Linked DNA regions of Homo sapiens: regions 1, 2, 4 and 5 are each linked to region 3. Evidence: promoter capture Hi-C in 16 types of primary human blood cells and fetal thymus (Javierre and others, 2016). All regions are on one chromosome and are shown on one strand. Each heading gives the region's core, a stretch centred on a gene start or on the middle of the fragment in contact. The rest is flanking DNA. Distances are from core to core; before and after follow the strand shown.

Region 1 (2,716 bases), core at 45-2,544, 430 kb after region 3:
CTCTCCCTTCTTGTCCTGCCAGAATATAAGTTCCTGAAAGTCAAGAAACTTGTGAGTCTTGTAGACTTCCTTATCCCCAGTATTTAGCCTGGTGTCTGGTGCAAGTAGGTGTTGAATAAATGTTTTATGGGTGAATGAATGCATGAATGAAAAAGTGAATAAATGAAAGAATGAACAACATGTTTACTTTATGCATGCACTACATTTGAGAAGCTTCCAATTTTATTCAATAGACACAACAAAAGGAAAAACAGAAAAAGACTACAATTGTAAGAAATTGGAGAGATCAAGACTATAGATGCAATAACATCCAGAATTGTCAAAGATTTTATTTCCACCAAGAATATTTTGGGAATCTTTTGTAGAGGGCATGCTTCTTATGATGAATGAAGGATGAGAGAAGAGAGAGTATTTAAACAAACGTCTATGAATGGCAAGTTAATAAAAGTGAAAGTTAAAAAGACAATATATTTTCTATTTGTGTTGTTATTTTGATAATAACAAAGTTATGATAAAGTGGGGGAACCATTGAAGATCTTATGTGAGGGGAATGGGGGCAAGATAAACAATTCTGTATGTTGCGGCAACTATTCTTCTCCATTGTGAAAGTGAACCAATGATTGACCTTCAAAATGACCATCTAGGAAATTTAAAAATTGAAGTAGGCTTGGGTAAAAGTCAGACCATGGGCCATGAAAGGTAGAAGCCTCTTTTCTGCTCTTCAGCAGAAATCTTGAGGCTAAACCTATTATTCCTACTGCTGTGGGTTCTTTCAGAGCAGAATTAAACCATTTCAGAAAATAGTTATATGTGTGAGTTGGAGTTCAGAGGAGAAAACTTACTTTAGAGCTTGATATTTAAAAGATACTTGTTATGCATCTTTTTAATAAATCAATAACAAAATCGAGAATTAAGTCATAATGAACTGGTATCTTGGAGATACATTCAAACTTCCATTAGGAAGACTGGCCTATTTATAAAATCTGCCCACTTTTAACCTGGTATCTCAAAGAAAAGCTAAGGTCAGCTGTATAAGTTGAAATCACTGCATTATTATAACATCAAGGAGGCAAGATGCTTCATATCCCATGTATCTCAAGAAAGAAAAAAGCTGGCTAAGTTGATAAAGGGAACTTGCAATCCAGAACCTTTTTTTTTTCTTTTTGGCACTAAAAGAGGAAATTTAGAGAAAAGCCAAGATGGTAGACAGAGGTCTCAAAGTTCTGGCCTGGAGGGAAATGAGGTGAACATAGGAGTTAGTGGCTTATGAGAAGAGGTAGCTGCCTCAAGACACCTGAGAAATTTTTTGTAAACATAGAAGTAAATCCAAAGAGAGTATTTGTATATTCAAGTATTATCCCTAAATAGCCCCCTGAAGTATTCTTCCTTGACATTGGAGTAAAGAAAGATAACTCAAAAATGCAATTAAGTCTGCTGTTTGGCATTTTTAATCTTCCTTTATTTGGAATTTTCTTTGTTTAGTTTTATTTTGGTTTAATCAACTTGATGTTGCAAGTATTTTTTACCCACATTATATTATGACATGAAAAAACATTGTAGCTGAAAGAATAGAGAAATAACCCATGAAACTGATTAGGAAATCATAGTCTCTTATATTAGTGTGTTTTAAAGCATAATAGCACCTGGTTGTAGAGGCTTCTGAAGTGCAGAGAATCTCACACTCATGAGTGCTATCTTGAGGGCATATTCACAGTAGCCACCTTATCCAAGCCACTCAGATACTTTGGGCTTAGCTTTTAAAAATGACCTGCAGGAGGGGACCAGGGCCATTGAAAGTAGTAGAAACAGAATTCACAACCAGAATCCAGACCTCATTCAGCTCAATGGGCCTCTTTCATCTCTAAGGACCCTCACCTAACTCCCTGGCTAGTGACCATCACTGACCCAGGATAGTAACCTCGGCCCCTCCATGGATTTAAGATTAAGCCTTGCCAGTCCCTGGAAACTCTGATCAGAAGACCAAGCAGCAAGTTTCATGACTGACCAGAGAATATAATTTCTCAGTCTCATAAGCCTTTGGGTTCAGAAATTTTAGTTGAGATGCTCTTGTGACTTATTTGGTGTCTGCTGGCTGCCTCTCCACTTGCCCGTTTGGTAGTCACCAACCATCTCACATGCGTGGATGGCACTTTCTAGCTAAACTTAATCACAGTCCCAACAGGCCTAAGGAATCTCTTCAGTTCCTGTATAAGGAGTTGGTAAGGTTGGCCTTTTCTTTACAGCAGAGCAGATTTTTATGGAACCCCTCTGGAAGATTTTACTGTAAGTAAACGGACCATTGACTAGAAAGCCAGAACCAGTGTTTCCAAGCCAGTGCAGTTAACACTCATGTATATGTGAGTGTGAAAAGCTTGGGCCATATAATCAGCATTATTTTATCAAGTGTTTTTGTGTTTTATTTTAAAAGCTTTGAATAACATCTTCACTGTGTCCATTGTTATCACACCCAGTGAGCCAAAATATCAGTGCATACAGTGAGCTCCAAGAGTGGCCCAATTTGGGATTTAAAAGGTGTGTTTGAGTTAAAAGCATAAAAAGCCTTAAACTTTTAAAACTGCAGACTATTGTATCCTTCTAACTCCAGAACAGCTCCGTCTAATGCTGTCCAACTTGGCAATAAAAACAAAATGAAGAAAGCCGAAACACTTTTAGACTCACACCAAGTATGCAGTATTTCAGCCTGACAGGATTATTC
Region 2 (2,751 bases), core at 219-2,718, 380 kb after region 3:
TGAGATCTATTAGCATCACTGGAGGTCATTGAGACTACTGGAAGGGCACTTGGAACACACACACACAGACGCACACGCAGCAGATTACATGAGACAACAACAAAACCCCATAGAATACCACTTCAGATGCCTCCCCACCCCAATAAGCGTGAATGTGATTTGATTAGTATTTTCTTGTTACTATTAAATGATGGCTCTGCTGCTCGTTTTGGTTCAGGACAAATCAACTGCCAATTGCTAAATATTCTCAAAGAACTAATTTCATTCTGATAGAACCTTTTCAATGTTATATTCAAAAAGCCCATTTTTAACCTTCCAGTGTAGAAATAACTTTCTTATATTGTGAAATGAAAGAAGAAATCAAAATTAAGTTGTGTTTTGGAGAATAAAGAAGAAAGATACTCTTTATGTTGTAGCAATGATTTGTATCAGATTCCTTCTCTAAGATTTGTACTTCTTATATTTATTTTTCTTGCCTATTCCCCAGGTTTTTAGTTCAAAGTAAATTATCAAGATTTTTTTTTTTTTTACTAAAACTTGCCTCTTTCCTCTTTCTCCCCCTACCCCCCAAGTGTAAAACATGGAGAAAGCAGAATTTTCTGTTTTTTCCATAATGGTTCATTTGTATTCTCTGAACCCAAGACTAAGGCAAGTTCTAATGTCTTACTGTTTTATATCACCACTGAGGTAGCAGTGACATGCTGGCTGCTGATGAATAAATATATTTATCTGGCTTCTAAACCTGCTTACACTGTTGAATAATGAGCAGATGTTAACAATTACTCTAAATGTCTTGGATATTTTGTAAAACTTTTATCAGACTTAGAGTGGTTTATTGATTTAGTCAGAATCATGCCCTGGGCACAAAACATATTGTCGTATGGGATTCAACGTGGGCGGAATGCATGTCCATTAACATTTTAAACTCCTATACAAGGGCCCTGCTTCTGGAACCTTCTGAACAGTAGGTATCTCTAATATGTTCTTGCTCTTCCTGCATAAACCAAAGCATATTTATTGACAATTTTTTTACGGCCTCACTTTTAAGGATACAACAATTGTATCCATAAAATACAATTCCTAATTGTACAAATAATTAGGAATGAAAAAAATGAATATAGGATTTGAACACCAGCTTCATGCATTTCAAGTAAACATTACAATCCAGCACAGTAACAACTACCCATGTTTGTTTCTAAAGTAAATCAACAAAAATCTATATTCCCATTTCTCTGGAATTATGCTTTGTTTTTTATTTTTTTAATAACATCAAGCCATTTTAGTTGAATGATACAGAAAGTCACTTTGAATTCAAATATAAAATAAGGTCATCCATCATGTTAACAATTTAATTACCTGAGTATATATTTTTCCAGCAAAACAAAAAAAACATTATTTGTTGTGTATCTTATTACTGAGCTGTTGCCTCAGGACAGCTTGGCTGTCAGTGGACAGGCCCTGTGGTAAGCAATGGTGAGATAGGGAGCAGATAAGCCTGGCAGTCCTCTGCCTTTCTTTCAGGCCCTCTCCATCCGTGTTTCCTGGAGGCCTTACCTGTTAGGGTCCTTGTAATCTTTGTGGCAACAGTGAAATGGTGACTTGTAAAGGCAGCGAAGCATGACAGAGAGAGAGAAAGGGTCGAATGAAATAGAAATGTGATATTTTCTATCTTCGGAGGGCCCAGGAAATAGGACTCCAGCTGCCGAGCTGGGGTTTGGCATTCAGTATCACACCGAGTACAAGGAATGTTGTGAGATTTATTATTTAGGACTCATGGAAGAGGCAAATTAAACAATGCACTAGTTTCTCTTATTGTTTAAGTAGCTGCCTTCCCAGTGATTTCAGATAAAGGTATAAGTTCAGCACTGAGGAAATGAGATCAGAATAAGGGAGGCAAATTGGAAAAGAACAGCTTCTGGGTTCTTCTCGGGGCGTTGGAATTGCCGGGCTACCTCCCTTTTGAGGACTCACCAGGTAGCAGGCAAATGTCTGTAATGTGGGTCTGTTGCTGTTTGCTTGTTTGTTTTTTAATTGTACACCCTGACTCCTACAAATACCTATAACAACACAACCTAATACGTTGATCATATAGCAACAATCCTTTCTAATCTAGGGAGTGGTGGACATAAAAATGGCAAGGAATTTTTTGTCCTGCTTTTACAATTTTATGCACTATGGTGGTTGGCAGTTTTATTTTGGCCTGATTCCTTGCAGGGAGCGTTGTCAACCGTGGAAGACAGAAAACAAAGACCAGACTTAAACCAACCATTAGTACATGCTGCCTGTTTCCTGGCTGGATAATGTTACAAGAAGGGAAGGTATTCTATTCTTACTCAGGCTCTGCATCGAGGATAAGTTTTGCATTTCAGAGTGGAAGACTAATAAGTGATAGAGACAACAGGGCTTGGTCAACAACTTGGGTATGAATCACCCAGGTAGCAGAGGGGGAAGCTGCCTAGAAGGAAATCTTTGCTTCTGAACCTCATCCAGGCAGCCCTACTGGGTCCCTCTCTCATTTAACCTGAGAGAACTTAGTTCAAGAAATACGTTCATTCTGTTCTTGCCTCAAGAAGAGCTACTGATCATTTTATGGTTAAACAAATCCACAGAAGTTTCTTCGAAGTGAATTTCACTGTGGATGATTCAGAAATTGCTGATGATGGCAAGGAGAGGGTAGATTTTCTTATGGGTTCCTTGATAACTTTACAAATGCATCTGATTTTCACAGCGAATGCATGTTTTCATAAATGG
Region 3 (2,700 bases), core at 6-2,505:
CTTTGGGGTTGAACCTTGTTATTTGCTCTCTCATGTCTGCAGTCCTAGATTTGATAATAAATACCAACAGGTACGACTGGGCATTCTCAATGATTCCCCTTTCCCTCCACAGCCTTTGCCAAACTCATGCCCAGGACCTGCTTTTCTTTTCCTTTAACTTGAACATCAAGGATGTATTGTTGCAGCACGGAGACTGAAAAGATTGTAATTTTCTTTTATGGTGTCTGGCAGGATTTGCAACAGATATTAATGGGGACATAAATAGCACATGGAAGGTATTGAACAAAACTGTTTAATGCAAGAAGGTTGTACCAAAAGAAAATCTATACCTAGTTGGGATTGATTCATACCTTGTACACAGCTAGCCCCTTTAGGAATTCCCATTTCTGAGTGGCACTTCATTGGTAAATCCTGTAATTAAAGGAAATTTCAACAATGTATTTTTTTAAGAGTGTGTGATTTTCCTCCCTACTCCTCTTTCTTTTGACCCCGAGGTTGTAGGTTTAAGCGAGTGAGTGAAAATGGCAGGCAAGCAGAGCTGCATCGGGAGGCGACCGGGGCAGCAGTGGGGGAGGCCGGAAGGTGACAGCCGACCTCTGAGAAAGCAGGAGGTCTTTGGATGTCAAATGCCAGCGCCGGCCCGGACCCGGGAATCAAGGGTGATCATTACTACTTGGTAGGGAAAGAATACTGAAATGTCCCAAGGATGGCAGCAAGCATTGGTATTACAGCTAAAATCGAGGAAAAAACCAGTTATTTATTCTGCTTACAACCCTGAAAGCGGAAGCTGCAATAGCTTCAGTAGCAGTAGCAGCGGCAGCAGTAGATTTCTCAAGTTCAGGATGATTCTCACTTTCTCCTGGATTATTAGCCGAGGGTCCAGCCCTTCTAGTTCTTTAACAGGAGAAGGGTTTTTAAAAAATGTTTTTAAAGTTTTTTTCCCCCCTGGCTTCTTGCTTCCCTCGTAGATGGTATAGAAAAATGTCTGCAATTTATGGTGGGAAAAACAATAACAATAATCATGATACAAGCTTGTTGGCGATTCTAACATGGAATCAATCCTCTGCCCAAGCCTTTTCAATTCCCCCCTCCCCTTTTTTTGGGCGAGGTGTCTGCTCCCCTCTGGCTCCCTGCGTTCGCTCCCCGCCCCCCGCCGCCCTCCCCGCGGCTCCCTTTCTCCGCCTCCTCGGCGATTGCCATCTGACAAGATCTCCAAATCAAAGTGATAAATCGCTCCAAACTTTTTTTGGCGGCGCTGAGATGTTGGAGGGGCGTCTAGCGCGCATGTGCGAAGGTGTCCAAACTGACAATGCTGGAGAGATAGCGAGTGTGGATTGAGAGAAAGGGAGAGAGGGAGGGAGAGAGAGTGAAAGAAGAAAATACAGAGAGTGAGTGTGTGGAAGAGAGAGAGAAACAGGAGAGAAACAGGAGGGAGGGAGAGAGAGAGAGAGAGAGAGAGAGAGAGAGAGAGAGAGAGAGAGAGAGAGAGAGACAGGAGAGAGAGGGAGGGAGCGAGAGGGAGAGCAAAAGAAGGAAAGGATCCAAGAAAAAAAAGCCCCAACCACACACCAGCGGCTGCAGGACTGGGCACAGCATGAGATCCAAAGGCAGGGCAAGGAAACTGGCCACAAGTAGGTGCAATATCCCTTTTCTATTGGCTTTTCCCCCTCCTCTGCCATCTTGCATATCTGTCTCTAGCGCTCCGGGAGGGAGCGCGGGCTGCCTCTTGCGCCGGGGCCCCGGGTGGAGGGCAGGCGGAGCGCAGCCCCAGCAACCTGCCGGTTCCAGTCTCTGCTCCCGGTCGCCCGCGCTCTCGCTCCCGGGTTGGGCGCCGGAGGAGCCTGGGCAGCCCTCAGTCCCGCGCACCGACCAGCTGTGGCAACCCCGGGGTGGGGGTGGGGGTGGGGGCAGCAAAGACTAGGGGTGGGAGGGAGGAGAGAGCGCGAGAGTGAGCGCGAAGGGGTGGGGTGGGGGGGAAGAGAAGAGGAGAAAGTCTCCCCCTCCCCTCCCCTTCCCCCCAGGCGGGGGAGAGTTGCCTCTGGCCAACCAGCTAGTCCCGGGTGTGGGAGGAGGGGGGCGCGGGGGATGGGGGGCCGGCAGGAGAAGGGAGCCTTTTCGAGCCTCGGTTTGTTTCTGGGGTTTGGGTAGGGTAGGCGGCTCAGAGGGAGCCACAGTGGCGGCGGCGGCGGGCGGCTGTGGTGGACTTGGGAAAAGTTGCGAGGCGGCCGCTGGAAGTTGCGCGGGCGGGCGGGTGGACTGCGCCGAGCCGCGGCTGCGGTAGTGGGCGCTGTGCGCTCGGCCATGCTCTCCGGCGCGGCGCTGCGCGGCGGGAGGACTGCGGCGGGGAGTAGGGGACACCAAGGTGGGGGCTGTGATCGCGGGGTGGGGGCGGGGGCACGGGCAGAGCAGAGCTACCGGCTCCGCACAGCCACGCGCAGGTGGGGAGGAAAGAGGCCCAGCGAGCGCTCGGACGTGGGGAGAGAAGAGGCCCAGCGAGCGCTCGGAGAGCCGGGAGTGGAGGGCACACAGCCAGCGGCGGCAGCCTAGGAGCAGGAGGCAGAGAGGGCGCGCTGCGACCCGCGCACCTCGGGCTTGCTGGGCGCCGAGCAAACCCCAGGGGGCGGGCTGCCAGAGCGTTGGGCCGCGGAGAGGGCGCAGCGCAGCCTCCGGCGCTTCGTCTGGGTGCAGCCTGGGTCCAGG
Region 4 (2,784 bases), core at 67-2,566, 270 kb after region 3:
GAGCACAGTCTCTCCTAGGTTACATGTTGGGAGAGACCAAACCAATTCTCAGAGTGTCTTTCCAGGAAATACATTTTATAAGCTTTTGGCACACCAAATTTTGACCACCTTCTGGTTTCTACTATGTAGAACTGGGATTGCTTGAGTGGAATGGACCTGGGGATGAACTTGTCCAACATGCTTATTTTATGGATAGGGAAACAGAGACCCCAAGCAGCTATGACTCTCAGCCTCTGCCTCTCAAGGTTACTCCAGGGTTCAGCAACATATTGACGCAAGCACAACTCCATGCCAGGACTTGTGACCCTCCTGCTTTCTCCAAATGCAAATGGCATAGTTTACAATCCTCCATCTTGACCCATATGGGAGTTGTAAAATATTCTCTATACCTTCCTGATGCTGATATACTTCCTTTCTTGACAATGGTTAGTCCTCAACTAATGTGTCCAGCCCTAAACTAATGTGTTCCGTCATCAGTAAATTCCTGACTGTGATAGTCTTTTCTTAAATACCTGTTTAAACAGTAATTTAGATAAGAATGTCCCATTTGTGTGCAACAGGAAATGCCTGCCTTCTTTTAGATATGCTGGCAAATAATTACTGTAGATATGGCTGGAATACTGAAAGGCTGTACTCTGGTCATTTCAGATTGCCTGAGGAGTAACCACCCAGTCTGCTGCAGCATGAATTCAGGACGGTTCTACTTTCCTCTAAATGAATCTGAAGGAAAATCACTTTGGGGACATAGAAAGCTTATGAAGAAAAAGCCCATCAGGTCCATCAGAGGTTGCTAAAAGTCTCTCAAAAATTTGTACTGGCAAAAGAAAGTAGAGGCACATAGCTAAAACATAAAAGAAAAACTATCTATCTGATATGTGATAAGTCTGTTCTTACCTGGTCATTCCAGTGGATATTGGTGACGGTGGCTCCTTAACAACAGAATAAGCCAAACATTAACCAGCTCATGTTTTCCTTTGGAATAGTACTCACAGAACTTTAATGTCTTTGCGTTAGCTCTTTTAGATTCAGTAACTAGATACCAAATGGCTTTACTGGTACCTCAAGTATGAATTTTCTAGCAATTTCTTTCCATTACCTTTTGACAAAAGCTTAGTTCCATCTCTGAAGAGAAAGTTTTGGAAGAGGCGAAGCCCATTTTTTAATAGCTTAGGAGTACTAGTTTAATTCCCAAATCATATTTATTTAGTGAAATGTCTGTGAAATTCCTAGAGGAGTGGAAAATCTCTTAACCAGATTTAAAAGCCACAGGACATGCAACAGTATGCCGCAATACCAGGAGAAAAATAAAAGTTTGCTCATTGATTTAGTCCCTTATTTTCCATCCGTATCACATTCTTTGCCATCTCCCTTGCTATCTTGCCCCCAATACTTCCATTCTGAGTCTTTTTGACAACTCGTATATGAAATATTTTTAGGAAACACTGGGGAAAAGTTCCATAAGGAAGACATGGAATAGCATGGTACTATGAAGTAGCAAATACTAAAAGTGCAAGGAAGCTTAGAGGGTCATTAAAAAAATTCTAGTGCCAAGCCATGTTGATAGATTATTTCCAAACATAATGGTCGTATCTAGAGACACGGGTTCTACAGATTCAGTCCAGTGTCCAAACACTCCATTTAAGTCTCTTTTCTTCTCACTCCCCTCTGGAGCAGGACATGCTAAAGACTATGCCCATCAGCAGTTCCCATTCTATTCAATGTCTCTGTTTTCTAAGCCTGTAATTCTGCACCCTTGCTACAGTCCTTCACAGCTTGTTTAAGTCAGTTTTCTGGAAATTCATTTTCCCTACTTTTACTAGTTTCCTTTCTTCGTTTCTTTGGGATCTTAAATTTCATTATCTTGGGGCCATTCTCATAGAAGATTTTGCTGGCCAGTTCATAGCCTCCTTCTTTGTTCTGTTTGTGCATCTGGCATTAGTTGAGCTCCACCCTTTTCCCCAAGCCCAGCACGTGTTTATTCACTGTGTTACTGGTGCAGAAGAGCTGGCTCCCGAAGTCCTCTGCTTTCTCACAAACAAGCCTCTGTAACTGCTCTGGAATTGTCCTAACAAGGGAAGAAGAGCATGTCCAGTTTTAATTTTGTAAGGAAATTGATGTCTTCCCCCTCCCTTCCCTGCCGCACTGTTAGCAGGCATCAGCTCATGGACTTGTGCTCATGTGCTCACGTCCTACCAGGAGGTCCCTAGTGGGGCTTTGAGGTTTGGCCGAGCTGTTCTCCTCCTAGAGCAGGGCACACATCCTCCGCTCTCAGCCACGTGTAATCCTTCCTGTCTGCTTGCAAGTTGGGCACAAAGTACTGGCGCTTGGGCCCACCCTCTTCTTTAGTAGCAATTAACCTTTACTACAGAGCTTCCTTTGAAGTTTGCTCATGTTTTTATTACAAAACTGCAATGAGGAACATAATGGGGGGAAATGTCTAAATTTCTGAGTTACCTAATCTGTTCAATTCCCTAGTTGAGCTCCTCTTGGCAGTTGTTTCATGTAGTTATGATCTCAACCAGTCTGCCTGGGATCTCAAATCATGTTTCTGTCTCAGCCTATTTTTAAGATTAGGGAGCTATTACACACACACACCCCTACACACAGATTGCAAATACACATGGATGTGTGTATTATATGCATATATGTGTACAGTTGAGTATAAATAATTAACTTCTTAATAACTACAGAAATCAGTCTTACTTTATAGTCAAAGTATGTATATATGCTCTTAATATTAAACTTTTTAGTTGCTGAATATTTTCTATCAATGAACTAATGTGA
Region 5 (2,868 bases), core at 272-2,771, 500 kb after region 3:
ATGGTTTAATATTAATTTTTTGTTTCCTCTGCCTTCTAAACCTTATCCTGCAGCATGTTTGGTTTGGTAATTTTCAACCTGTGAGTCAAAAGCCAAGGAATCAGAGAGAGTGCTGTGGGGCCAGGGAAATATCCCAGAGCTATTCTCTGATGGTCTGAGGACATCAGGCAACTGAATTCTCCGTATCCACCAAAGAGCTGTGGCTGGTGTGCTTGGTATCTATTGCTGCCCCACAAATTATCCCAAAACTTAATGGTTGAAAACAACAGTAAACATTTAGTGTTCTCAGTTTCTATGGTTTAGGAATTCAGGGGTGGCTCAGCTAGCTGGGCAGTTGTGGTCCAGGGTCTCATCAGGTCACAGGGAAAATGGCAGCTTCAGTCACCTAAAAATGGGACTGAGGCTGGATAATTTGTTTTCCAAGGCCACTCTTTCACATAGCTGGCACATCCTAATTGTTCCCCGCATAGGCCTTTCTACAGGCTGCATCATATCCACAGAACATGAATGACAGGGAGAGAGAGAGAGAGAGAGACTCTTCTTTTTTATAATCAAATTTCAAAACTCACATAGCATCCCTTTCTCCTCATTCTGTTTATCGGAAGTGTGTCACTAAGCTCAGCTTATATTCAACATGAGGAGAATTAGACCACTTTTTGAAGAAGGGGAGAGAAAATTTAAAATTTCTTAATATATTTTAAAACCATCACAGATGGGTATTCAGTATATTTATCTTCTCTCTTTACCATCAACGTGGTACCTGGAACATGGAGAGGATAAATGAGTGAATGGTTTGTCTTTAATCTGTGACCAGTATTTTTTTTAATCAGGAAAAAAAAGTCTTTTGTCTTCTTTTAGGTCTGTCCATATCCTCTAAATTCTGAACTGTTGGCTCAGGGAATTTGTAAATATCCAGGTCAGACCCCTTTTGATGGCAGTGTCAAGGTAAGAATGCAAAAATAAGACTGTGCCTCTCTTGCTGTATATAAGGATGCTGAGGCTCAGCTGCCATTGCCAGCACTTATATTAGGGTTGGTCTTCCCAGTAGTGGCAATGATTCCCCAGGATCCATGCATGGTTCAGTTCCCTTATGACTAACTATAGGGTGTGGTATGTAACCAATGGCCAACACAATAGATTTTTTTCATTGGATTTTAAAGCTACTTAAAGGTGGTGACCATGACTTAATCATCAATGTACACTAAATGTCAAATGATGTGCCAGGATATAGAAGATTCCTCATAAATACTTGTGGAGCAAATTGAACTAAGTTGGTTTACGTGTTGAACTCATTGTCCTGCTTTGCAACATAAACTCCCAGCCAGCAGAACCAATTTTTGCACCCAAAATTGAACAGCGTCTACTGAGGTCCTCTGGATTCACACTAATGTTTTATCTTGTATATTGTCCTTCCTTTTCTGTGAATGTTTTGTCTTCTTTTTACCACATTCTGAAGAAATGTATATTTTTAAAACATTTTTAATTTTTAATTTTTGTGGGTACATAGCAGGTGTATGTATTTATGGGGTACATGAGATATTTTGATCCAGGCATATAATGCATAATAATATCATCAGGTTAAATGAGGGTATCAATAACTTCAAGCATTCAGCCTTTTTTTGTTTTACAAACAACTCAGTTATACTCTTTTAGTTATTTCAAAATGTACAATATATTATTTTAGTTATTTTAAAATGTACAATAATATATTGTACAATAATATATTGTACATTTTAAAATAACTAATATATTATTGTTAAATATATAATATATATTTAAAATAACTAATATATTATTATACAATATATTATTGTACATTTAAAAATAACTAAAAGTTACACCCTGTAGTCACCCTGTTGTGCTATCAAGTACTAGATCTTATTCATTTAGCTTACTTCAAATATTGAGGAAAATGTAGTTTAAACATAATTTCTGTTCAAGGTTTATTTTAAAAAACACATATCATTTCTAGCGTAATTTTGAAGATTCTTATTTTTCTTCATTTTTTTTTTATCTGTCTCCAAAAAAATCCTTTCTCAGAAAATGTTTTTCCCCATTCGGATTGCAATTCCTGGCTTAGTGTTTAGACACCATTATGAATTTGTATTCCTATCACTTATTTTGGTTATTCTTCTCTGGCTCTATATGTTTCCATCTCTGTTTCTCAGAAGCAAATTGCTGCCTGAGTGACCAGAAAATAAATTAAAGGGACAAAATATTTGTTTCTCTTTTGATATAAAGATGGCTATATAAAAATCCACCACCAACAAAAAAAACCACAGAGGGCATTTGCATAGGAAGTACCAACGATTTTATTGAGTTAGAACTCCATTTAAAAATAGCTCATGCTTATTAGGTGCTTAGTATGTGCTAGACACTAAATTAAGTGCTGTGCATGGATTACCTCATTTCATCCTCTCAATAGCCCTATGAGATACTTTTTATCATTATACTCATTTTACAAAGGAGGAAACCAAGCTGATAAGTAACTTTACATATGTCACACCCCAAGCACATAGCGAAGCTGTGATTTGAATCCAGGCTGCCCCACTGCAGATTCTGTGTTGTTAGTCACTATCCTAAACTTCTTTTTTAAAATTTTTATTTGGATTTATGCTATCTCTCCAAGTACTGTACTTCTTTATGAGTCTCTATTTACCAGATATTACACTAAGTGCTTTATATACTTCACCTCAATTGTTTAACCCTAATAACTTCTTAGAAGTCCCATTATTGCAATTTTATTTATTTATTTTTTTGAGACGGAATCTCGCACTGTTGCCCGGGCTGGATGCAGTGGCGTGATCTTGGCTCGCCGCAACTTCTGCCTCCCGGGTTCAAGCAATTCTCCTGCCTCAGCCTCCCAAG

What was found. The method cuts DNA at HindIII sites, captures the fragments that hold promoters and counts their contacts. A CHiCAGO score of 5 or more calls a contact.
Region 1: a fragment that was not itself captured here is called in contact with the fragment with the promoter of MECOM in region 3 in 1 of 17 cell types (endothelial precursors); the score reaches 6.4 in endothelial precursors.
Region 2: a contact is called between a fragment that was not itself captured here and the fragment with the promoter of MECOM in region 3, in 1 of 17 cell types (endothelial precursors). The highest score is 5.6, in endothelial precursors.
Region 4: a contact is called between a fragment that was not itself captured here and the fragment with the promoter of MECOM in region 3, in 2 of 17 cell types (megakaryocytes and endothelial precursors). The highest score is 7.2, in megakaryocytes.
Region 5: a fragment that was not itself captured here is called in contact with the fragment with the promoter of MECOM in region 3 in 2 of 17 cell types (fetal thymus and endothelial precursors); the score reaches 5.8 in fetal thymus.

What each region holds. Positions count from the first base shown.
Region 1 is chr3:169,228,691-169,231,406 of GRCh38, reverse strand. The region is part of intron 2 of MECOM (MDS1 and EVI1 complex locus); the gene reads left to right. Among named protein-coding and RNA genes, the nearest start is that of MECOM-AS1, 220 kb to the left of the region's middle. The HindIII fragment of the contact is 2,158 bases long and covers 216-2,373 here.
Region 2 is chr3:169,286,007-169,288,757 of GRCh38, reverse strand. The region is part of intron 2 of MECOM (MDS1 and EVI1 complex locus); the gene reads left to right. Among named protein-coding and RNA genes, the nearest start is that of MECOM-AS1, 160 kb to the left of the region's middle. The HindIII fragment of the contact is 5,133 bases long and covers 1-2,751 here.
Region 3 is chr3:169,662,267-169,664,966 of GRCh38, reverse strand. It overlaps MECOM (MDS1 and EVI1 complex locus), which reads left to right and starts at 1,255. Exons shown (of 17, transcript NM_004991.4): 1 at 1,255-1,631. The coding sequence starts at 1,595. RefSeq lists a silencer at 2,264-2,363. The HindIII fragment of the contact is 2,702 bases long and covers 1,034-2,700 here.
Region 4 is chr3:169,387,555-169,390,338 of GRCh38, reverse strand. The region is part of intron 1 of MECOM (MDS1 and EVI1 complex locus); the gene reads left to right. Among named protein-coding and RNA genes, the nearest start is that of MECOM-AS1, 59 kb to the left of the region's middle. The HindIII fragment of the contact is 409 bases long and covers 1,112-1,520 here.
Region 5 is chr3:169,159,449-169,162,316 of GRCh38, reverse strand. The region is part of intron 2 of MECOM (MDS1 and EVI1 complex locus); the gene reads left to right. Among named protein-coding and RNA genes, the nearest start is that of LINC01997, 160 kb to the right of the region's middle. The HindIII fragment of the contact is 3,396 bases long and covers 1-2,868 here.